Regions from separate parts of the Homo sapiens genome. Here region 2 is linked to region 1. The links are contacts of gene promoters, found by promoter capture Hi-C in human tissues and cell types (Jung and others, 2019). All regions are on one chromosome and are shown on one strand. The core of a region is centred on a gene start or on the middle of the fragment in contact, and the rest is flanking DNA. Distances in the headings are between cores, read along the strand shown. Region 1 holds the start of NRARP (NOTCH regulated ankyrin repeat protein). Region 2 overlaps EXD3 (exonuclease 3'-5' domain containing 3).

What was found. Contacts are between HindIII fragments. The study calls those that stand out against the background at their distance.
Region 2: a fragment that was not itself captured here is called in contact with the fragment with the promoter of NRARP in region 1 in 3 of the 25 tissues and cell types used here (dorsolateral prefrontal cortex, pancreas and spleen).

What each region holds. Positions count from the first base shown.
Region 1 is chr9:137,298,836-137,303,670 of GRCh38, forward strand. NRARP (NOTCH regulated ankyrin repeat protein) reads right to left here and starts at 3,436. Exons shown (of 1, transcript NM_001004354.3): 1 at 796-3,436. The coding sequence starts at 3,093. The coding sequence ends at 2,749. RefSeq lists enhancers at 42-935, 2,735-3,653 and silencers at 2,294-2,343, 2,464-2,523, 2,594-2,673, 3,356-3,995. The HindIII fragment of the contact is 30,312 bases long and covers 1-4,835 here.
Region 2 is chr9:137,364,554-137,369,148 of GRCh38, forward strand. It overlaps EXD3 (exonuclease 3'-5' domain containing 3), which reads right to left. Exons shown (of 22, transcript NM_017820.5): 6 at 3,383-3,436; 7 at 1,940-2,079. Among named protein-coding and RNA genes, the nearest start is that of EXD3, 56 kb to the right of the region's middle. RefSeq lists an enhancer at 3,685-4,286. The HindIII fragment of the contact is 6,555 bases long and covers 1-4,595 here.

The DNA.
Region 1 (4,835 bases), core at 2,186-4,685:
AGTTTGTGGGAAGGGCAGCCCTTCTGCGGACACGGTTTAGGGAAGCAGATTCCCCTTACATTCGGCAGAGGGGTTTGAAAAGTTGTTACCTTGTAACTCCCGGTCTTTGCCCTTCTCCAAGTTCTCTCTGCTGGCTGCTCTTGCTGGGGGCGGGTGTGCTCCCTTGCAGCCCGGTACAGGGCCCCCAGGGCCCCAAGGGCATCTCAGGAGTGGACCAAGAGTCTCTGCTCCTTTCTGTCAGGTGCCAGCAACAGCCATCCTGCTCTGCTCTCCTTTCTTGCGAATGGGAGTGCCCGGCCCCGATGCTCGTCTAACTCAGGGTCTGTGCTCTTTGGGGTGTTTTGACTCCAGGCCTGTGCAGGCCTCCAAAGCTCCCGGGTGCCTCCAGGGGACTTTCTACCTGCCAGGAGTGAGCAGCTATGGGATTTCCCCCCAATTTACAAGATACACTTTCTGTGCAGCAGGCAGCCTCCAGCATGACCCCCTAGCGGGTCAGAGTGGGCAGGGCTTCAGGCCGAACTCTCCTCTCCAGCGGAGGTCTCAGCTGCTTTGCTGGGGAACAGAGCAGAGGCTGTGACACCAGCTCTGGGCACGCTGGAGGTGCTGGGTCCTCGTGAGTCCTGTGTGCAGCCGGGTTGGGCTTGGCCGTTGCGTGGGGCTGGGAGCGAGTTTACCAGGCTCTGTCTTCAGACAAATACAAGCCAAGCATTGTGCACCCAGCACCCACAAACCGTGTCACAGCCTGACCCTCGTCCCCAGAGAGGGTGTTCTGCAACTTGTGCCAAAGCCAAGAAGGACCAAGAAACTTTTTTTTAATATAAAAAGATCAATGAAAAATTTATTTATAAATTTTTCACGCTGGGCTACAGGTCAATATCGTACACTCAGGAATGTGCTGCACAAACTTTATCCAGTTAGCAGTGATCACCCCGTGACCCACACACAGCTTCGATATAAGCCTAGAAAGTCTTAACATTAATTAACATAATTAAAAAGGTATTTGCATCTAGAAAAAATATACAGAAGAACTCCTTGTGGAGTAATCTGTGCCTCCATTTCAATGTCTGCTTGTTTCACTGACATTATCAATATATTCTTCTCACACAAAGTTTTATAAAAAGCGACGGAGGGCTGCCCGAATACGACCAGCCACGCACAAAGGGCCTCCACCCACCTGTGTCCTCAAGTGCTCCCCATTTCTGCACGAAGGGTCAGCAGCACTTCCATGAAGGGGAAACCTCATTTAAATTTGAATAATTCAGCCTCCCTTTTATTTCTCAGGATCAAAACAACAAGGGGTGTGGGGCTGCATAGAAAATTGGAGCCACAGAAACCAGGAAGGGCGCCTTTCAGGACAGAAAGTGACGCAGGAGAACCTCCCCGGGCCCAGGTCTCGACGCAACCCCTCCCCCACGGCAGGATTTCGGGTTCGAATTGAGTCCTCGAAGCTCTGGGAGGCTAAAAAGGGGCAAAACGATCCTTCAATTAACTCAGCCATTAGCACAAGAGATTCACAGTCTTATAGGTATTTTATAAAAATATAAATATGGGTACACTCTGTTGCCTTCACAACGCTGGATACATCGCCCTTTAAAATTGGGTTTATAACCAAGATTCAAAAAATACACCTAAAACTTGGCTTAAAATATGTTAATATTTTATATTCTGTCATAAATGTTATGACATTTAATTGTGGCAAATCCATTTACTTTTTTTAAAAAAGTGTGCAACCGTTAACTATGATAGAACGCACTAGAAAAGGTAACGAACCTTCACCCACCCCCCCGTGTCCCCGCCACCCTCGAGCGCCAGCGAGCTTCCAGGATCCTGGGGAAACTGCAAAACAAGCCGGTTTGGGGGATGGTGGCCTCATCCAGGAGGGGCGGGGGAGAGAGGCCCTGGGGCTTCCAAAACTCACGGATTTGAGGGAGAGGGAGAAGGAGGGAGGGGGAACAGAACGGGGTGGGGAGGTAGACGCGGGGAGAAGGGAAGGGGGAGGGACAGCACGGGAACACCATCAGGCTGGGCGGTATTTTCAGTGCAACCAAGAAATGGTAGACTCAAGTTTTTAGTTTTAAGACTAGAAAAAAATGCATCACTCCCCCCCATAACCACATTGACCACGCAGTGTTTTCCAAACAAAAAAACCAGGCGCACAAACTCCACCCACAAATGTACACACACAAGATAAATAGTTTAGAACACCAGCAACAGCGAACAGCCGAGCGTCTCCTCGGCCGCGCGCCAGCGGCGCGGACCTCGGACCTCGGGGCTGCTCCTCGGCTGCAGCCGGCATCGGCGCGTCCCGGGCCTGCGGGCGGGTCCTGAAGGCGGCGGCGGAGCGCTCCGAGTCCGCCTTCGGCTCCCGCCGCCCGCCTTTCACCTTCGGGAGAAAACATTTTGCGCAGAGGATCCGGTATCTCGGGATTCCGAACTTGCTGGTTGCGAGACTCAAATTTCAAAAGGGGCTGGAGCCCGCGCCCCGCCCCCACCCGCGAGGCGGCGGGCAGGCGAGCGGGTGGGGGCCGTGGGAAGCTGCTCCGGCCCGGCCGGGCCCGGCTAGGCCGCAGGGAGGCGCTCGGCCGGCGGGGCTGCCGGACCCTGGGGCCGGGACGCACGCGCCGTATTCGCCGTGGCCACGGGCCTTCTGGCGGGGCCTGCGAGCCGGGCGCGCACCGAGGTAGTTGGCGGGAAGGTACAGCAGAGACGACGCGGGCGCAGGGCCGGGGTCCGGGGTCCCGGCGGGCATCACCGGCCGCTGGCCGCGTACTTCGCCTTGGTGATGAGATAGAGCACGATGTCCTGGTGGCCACCGAACGCGGCGATGTGCAGCGCGCTCCAGCCGTCGCGGTTGGCCAGGCGGATGTCGGCGCCGAACTTGACCAGCAGCTTCACGAGCTCCAGGTTGCCGTCGATGACCGACTGGTGCAGCGCCGTCTGGCCCTCGGGCCCGAACGAGTTCACGTTGAACTCGCAGTTGGTCATGTTCTGCAGCAGCGACTGCAGCTCCTGCGTGTTGCCCTTGCGCACAGCCTCCTGGAAGATGCGCTGCGTCTGCGGCGCGGAGCAGGTGGACAGCTCGGCCTGGCTCATGCTGCCGCCGGGCGCGGGCCGCGGGCCGGGCCGGGGCTCAGCGCGGGCGGCGGCTGCGGCGCGGGCCCCCGGCTGTCTCGGGGCGCGCCTCGGCGCATGGAGGGCGCGGCGTCCCCGGGCCCCGCACGCCGCCTCTGGGCGCTCCGGGCGCTCGGGGCCGGGGGTCGCCGCCGCGGGGACCCCGCCGCATCCAGCCGCGCCCGGGTGGGCGACGGGGGCGCGCGCTCGGCTCGCGGGGGCCGGGCCCGGCCGGGGACGGCGGCGCCGCGCGGTCCCGGTCCCTACTCGGTTCGGCTGCGGCTCCCACGCGGTCCCAAGGCGCCTCCCCACGCGCCGCAGCACTAGCTCGCCCGCCGCGCCGGGGCGCCTTTTACCTTCTTTATATTTGCATAACAATGGCAGCCCGTGACGCGCGCGCCGGCGGCCCCGGGATTGGGCCGCGCCCACATGGGGGCGGGGCGTGGGCGGTGCCGTGCGCAGGGGTCCGGGGGCGGGTCCCGGCGGCGGCGCGCTTCGCGGCAGGGGGCGCTGGTCGCCGGCAGCGCCTGGGCGGGGGAGGCCAGGTGGCCGCCGGGGGGGTCCAGCTCCGTCGCCGCCGCCGTCCGCGCGCCCCCCGGGCGCTCCGCGTCTCTTTGCGGTCGTCCCGCCCCTTCTCCCTCCGGCCACCCGGGGAATTCCAAGCTCCCTCAGCAGCCAGACCCAGGCCTTGCCCGGTACCCGAGCGCGACCGCCAGGTGGCCCCGAGGGCGGCCTCTCCCGGGCAGGGGGTTCGCGGGCATCTCAGGCCCGTGGCGAAGGAGAGACCCCTCTGAGCGGAGAGGCGCGCGGCGACCCCGGCCAGCCCGCGCCTCCGGGCTCACCGTCCACGCGGGTGGCAACTCCAGGCCCTGACGTGGGGCCTTCAGCCACGCGGGTCCTTCCCGCGCGCGGGCAGCCTCATGGCCGCCGGCTCAGCCTATGTGTGCCCCAACCGTACTGATGCGAGGGGCCTCCGGCCGGCCACCGCGGCTTCTATCGCCTGGCGGTGAAGGGGGTTCCGCTGTCCTCTCGGGAGGAAGCCCCGGGCCGGGGCGCAGCGGGAGGGTCGGGACCGCGGCCTGCCTCCCTCTGCTGCCCACGCACCAGCATGCGGGACACATAGGTCCTGCCCAGGTGAGCAGGGCTAGGTGTGGCGCCAGGGCCAGAAGGGAATTCTGAAACGCCTGGCTTCCAAACTGTAAAACCCATTTTTATTGACCACTCTAACAATTGACCGGGAGGCACTAGCAGGGGAAGCACAGCGCATTTCCTCATTAGAGTTTTACAGTTTACAACTCGCTGTGGTCGTTGGAAATTAAGGAGGAGTGATTCTCAGGCGCGGAGCAGGAGGCCAGGCAGGCTGGGGCTTGAATTCCTTCTGAAGCCAAGCCGGGAATTCCGCGCAGGCAGCTCTGAGCTCGGGCTGGGGAGACCCCCATGCCAGGCCTTGTCTGAGGAGGCTTCCGCCCACCAGCTCCATGTCCCCACATCCGGCTCCCCACAGGGGTGTGTCCCCACCCCATGCTGTGCCCATACTGGCAGGAAAAACTGGGCAGGCTCCCTTCGGGACAGACCCTGGCTGACCGGAGCAGGGTCCTGAGGCCCTGGGGTCCTCCTGGTGGGCTGGGAACCTCTGTCCCTCAAAGGCACAGCTCAGAGCTCGCTCTGGTCTTCCTGGGGCCGTGATCCCGCTGGTTCTGTTCAGCTCTCTCCTTTGGGCCTCA
Region 2 (4,595 bases), core at 1,929-4,428, 65 kb after region 1:
GAAGGTTGCAGTGAGCCTAGATTGCGCCACTGCACTCCAGCCTGGGCGACAAAGGCTTCATCTAAAAAAAAAAATCATTAATTTAAACCAATATCTGCAATGAAATCTAACACTGCAGGGTCTTCTTCACCCTCCCAGTTTCCGTGTATATTTCTTTTCTTCGCAATGAGACCCCTGGTTCCCACCTCCATCAATGCATTCACTGTTTTGTTCTATGTTTTTTTTTTTTTTTTGAGACTGAGTCTCGCTCTGTCGCCCAGGCTGCAGTGCAGTGGTACTATCTCGGCTCACTGCAAGCTCCGCCTCCTGGGTTCACGCTATTCTCCTGCTTCAGCCTCCCGAGTAGCTGGGACTACAGGCGCCTGCTACCGTGACCAGCTAATTTTTTGTATTTTTAGTAGAAACGGGGTTTCACTGTGTTAGCCAGGATGGTCTCAATCTCCTGACCTTGTGATCCACCCGCCTCGGCCTCCCAAAGTGCTGGGATTACAGGTGTGAGCCGCCGAGCCCGGCCCTATGTCTTTTTTTTTTTTTTTAAGTAATAGGATCGATGGCAACCGACTATGTGCTCACCTGTGCCTGGCCTGACGCTGTGCGGCTGCTGCCTGCTCCCTCTGATGAAAAGTCTTAGCAAGCTTTGAGTCAGGTGGACTCAGCCCCATTGTGCGAATGAGGAAACAAACTCAGAAAGTGGAAGTGACTTGGAGGACAAGTGGAGGAGGATGGGCCCGGGACGGCCTGACGTCCAAGTCCAAGCCTGTGACTCTCCAGTGAGACAACCCTGGGGCTGTGTGGGGAATGGAGGCCGGGATCTGCCTGCCAGTGGATGGGCCCTGGAGCCTTCACAGACCTTTCAGCTTGCTTCACTCTCGGGGCACCTTGACCAGATATAGAGCAGGAAGCCCCTCCCCTCCCAGATGTCATCCCTCATATCTCACACACACACACATGCACACCTGCAGGCACACACACGTACACACACATGCATGCACACACAGACCTGCACAAACATGAACACAGTGCACACACAGGTACACACGCACACACATGCACACACACGCACACCTGCAGGCACACACACGTGCACACACATACATGTACACACACCACACGCACACACATGCACAGGCACACATGCACACACGTACACACCCATGCACACACACATACAAACACACACCTACAGGCACACACATACATGCACACACACACCACATGCACGAAAACACACGTACACCTGCAGGCACACACATGTACACATCATATGCACGCAGACATACACACCTGCACAAACGAACACAATGCACACACAGATATACATGCACACACACACACCTGCAGGCACACACATACATGCACACACATGCACACCTACAGGCACACACAAACGTGCACACACGCACATATCACGTGCACACACAGAGACACACACATGCACACCTGCAGGCACACATGCACATGGGCACACACATACATGCACACACATGCACACACATGCACATGGCTTCCCTGAATCCATACAGGCACCATATGGGCTCCTTGTCAGGTGCTGCCTTTTCTCTGTAATTGCTGACAGACGTCACACACCAAGTGCTTCCAAAAACTTTATTAGATGAAAGAACAAAGGAATGGATGAACAAGAAAGCAGTACGGTTGCCATGCCTGCATGAGAAGAGCCACCACGGAGAATTATTTTCGTTCTTCTAAGAGCAGTTAACTCTTTTCACTCGGGAGAAGAGGGCTGTGCTCCTGCCAGCCCCAGCCGCTCCTCTCCAGAGGCAGCTGCTCCAGCTGCAGTCACATGGCAGCTGTGACCCAAACACCAGAACTTCCTGGGGAGAGCTCTCCCACGCGCCTGCTGCCCCCCTACACTCCCTTCCCTAACCAGGGCTCCCAGGATGCCATCTGGTGCCAGCTGCCAGCGCCCCACGGGACTCACCTGGCAACGTCCTTGATGTCAAAGCCGGGCTGGCACCAGGAATCCATGAGGACCAGCAGCCTCCTCTGGAGGTCCGGGAAGCCGGCCACATAGCGCTCCACGAGGGCCACCTTGTCCTGGAGGAGCAGTGGGATGCTCATCTGCAGGGGGACACACGGTCAGGCCACAGCCTCCGCCACCTCAGCCAAAACCTGACTCACCTCCAACCCAGAGGGAGCGGCCAAAGTGTCAGAACGAAAGGGGCCCAGAGGCCGTCCAGGCCCAGCAGTGCTCGCCCGGCCAGTGCTCACGCTCACACACACTCGCCCAAGGCTCCTGCTGGGCTCTGTGGCCATCCCCATCTCCATGATGAAGGCCTGGAGGCCCTAAGAGGCAAGGGGGACCCTGGGGAAGCTCATTTGTCACCAAATGTGGGGAGGCAGGACCAAGACAAACCACTGGCAGTAGCCCTGGTAGTCCGGAAATGCCTTCTCGTGGCACATGGTACCAGCACTGCCTCCCGAGCAGGTCTGCAAGACCCACACGCTGTCGGTGCCTCCAAGAGGCCCTGAGGGAGTCCCTGGCTGTGGCGCTGGGCCTTGGGGCACACCAGCCATTCCCTCAGCAAGAACGAATTCCCGTAGACAACGCCCCTCGAAGAAGACTCCTCACCTCCCTTCCCCCACCTCCTCTGCCCCACAGGTGAGGCTGCCTGGCGCCGACTGCATGGGGCCCACCTGCCCAGCAGTGCCTTGGGGGACAGTCCTCGGGCAGAACGCGAAGCCCCAAGAGCCCTCTCTGGCCCCAGCTCTTGTAGACCTGGAGTCTGCACCCATCGCCCGGAGCACAGCCCTGCAGGCTGTGTAGACACCCCTCCCTCTTTAGGGAGACCAGGATGCGTCCCGTCCCCACCTGGCTCTGCCCGAGGGGTGCTCACTCCCCCACCCTGCCCCTGCTTAACCAGCAGGTTCCCCTTGTGTCCCTGTGATGTGCACGAAGTCCCATTGTAGAAGCTTGGATCTGCCATCCCTGCAGACACTGTGGGTTCGAGGACTGTGTCATCTGTCCGGAAATTCACAGTTAGGTGACTGCTTCCCCCAGCCCACTGCACGGTGGAGGCGTGCAGCAGAGGAGGGTCCCAGAAGCACATGGGCTGCGTGTCCTCGAGGCAGCTGGTGCCCACTCCAGGGAAGGGGTGGCCCCAGCTGCTGCACGGAGCACACTCAGGGCTTCAGGGGACAGCTGGACACGGGGTTCGTGTACGTGCGGCTGCGTCTGATTTGGGGTCAGCCCATGAGGAGGATGGTGGTTTAGGGGGCTCTGGAGGCCCTCGCCGGCCCCCGATGGCCCTGCTGTCCCCCACTGTGGCTTGGTGGACTCCCGACCTCCAACAAACACTGTTTATAGAGACCTGGGCGTTATCCAAGTTTGAACCTAAACAATTTACATGAGAAAGACGTTCACCTTTTCAACGCCAAGCTCCGACTGCAGCTTCAACGTCGCGCCCAGCGTGGCTGCCTGGCAAACACAAAGGCGGCAGATTACTCAGGGCCTGGGAGGGGCCAGGCAGCACGGCGGGTGAGGGGGCTACCACCCTTTTGCACCAGCACCTGGTCACTGAGGCCGGAGTGCAGGGCCTTCCCGTGTTCAGCCACGTGGCCCTCAGGCCGAGGGGCCTGGCCTGGCAGACAAGCCCCCCCGTGCTGAGCCAGGCCTTGCATAGGCTGGGACAGGTGGGAGGCCTGGGCTTGGCCTGGATGGGGCAGCAGGGACTCAAGGGGGTGGCTGGCCACACAGCCTGGGTCCCAGGGCCTTGCTCGGGGATTGCTGATGAGCCAGAGGAAGGCTAGGAGGTGGGGTCAAGGCAAGGCGCAAAGCCGTGACCTCCCACACGACCCATCTGCGGGCCCCAGAACACAATGGTGCCTGCAGTGGACGGGCCAAGGCTGAGGACCCCCAGCCTCAGCGCATCCTGAGGCCTGGGGGGTCCTAGCCCTTCCCACGAGGCGGAGACGGGCACCCCGCGAGCGCTCCAAGGCCACACTGGCTGCGATCGGGGCACGGCCGGGCCCTGACCGCCTGCACGTACCACGGGCCTGAGCTGCTATTAATAATTTCCATAAGCCGCGCTCCCATAGCCAGCAAAAATGACCCACGAGAGCAGCCCGCGGAGCATCGGCGCCCCGCCCCCGCGCAGCCCAGAGAAAGGACCAAAATAGCGGCCTGGGAAAGCCTCGAGCCGGCTTCCAGCCCCGGTGCGCAGGGTGGGGGCGCAGGGCCGGGGGCCTTTCCCTGCGCAGCGCTGACCCGGCGCCTCTACTGTCTGGCCAGGGTCCAAGAGGCTAGGCCTCCACCAGGCCCATGGGGCGCAGGGCCCGGGGCGGGGGTCTCAGGGCCGTGGGGAGGGGCGAAGGTCCGGGGCGGGGCCCCAGGGCTGTGGGCAGGGGCGCCTGGCCCGGGAAGGGAGTCTCAGGCCCGTGAGGAGGGGCACAGGGCCGGGGGACGGGGTGCAGTGCCCGGGGCGGGGTGGGGGGGCTTCTCAGAGCCGTGTGGGGAGGGGCGCAGGGTCAGGGGAAGGGACGCAGGACCCGGGGAGGGGGTCTCAGGGCCGTGGGGAGGGGCGCAGGGCCCGGGGCGTGGGAGTCTCGGAGTCGTGGGGAGGGGCGCAGGGCCGGGG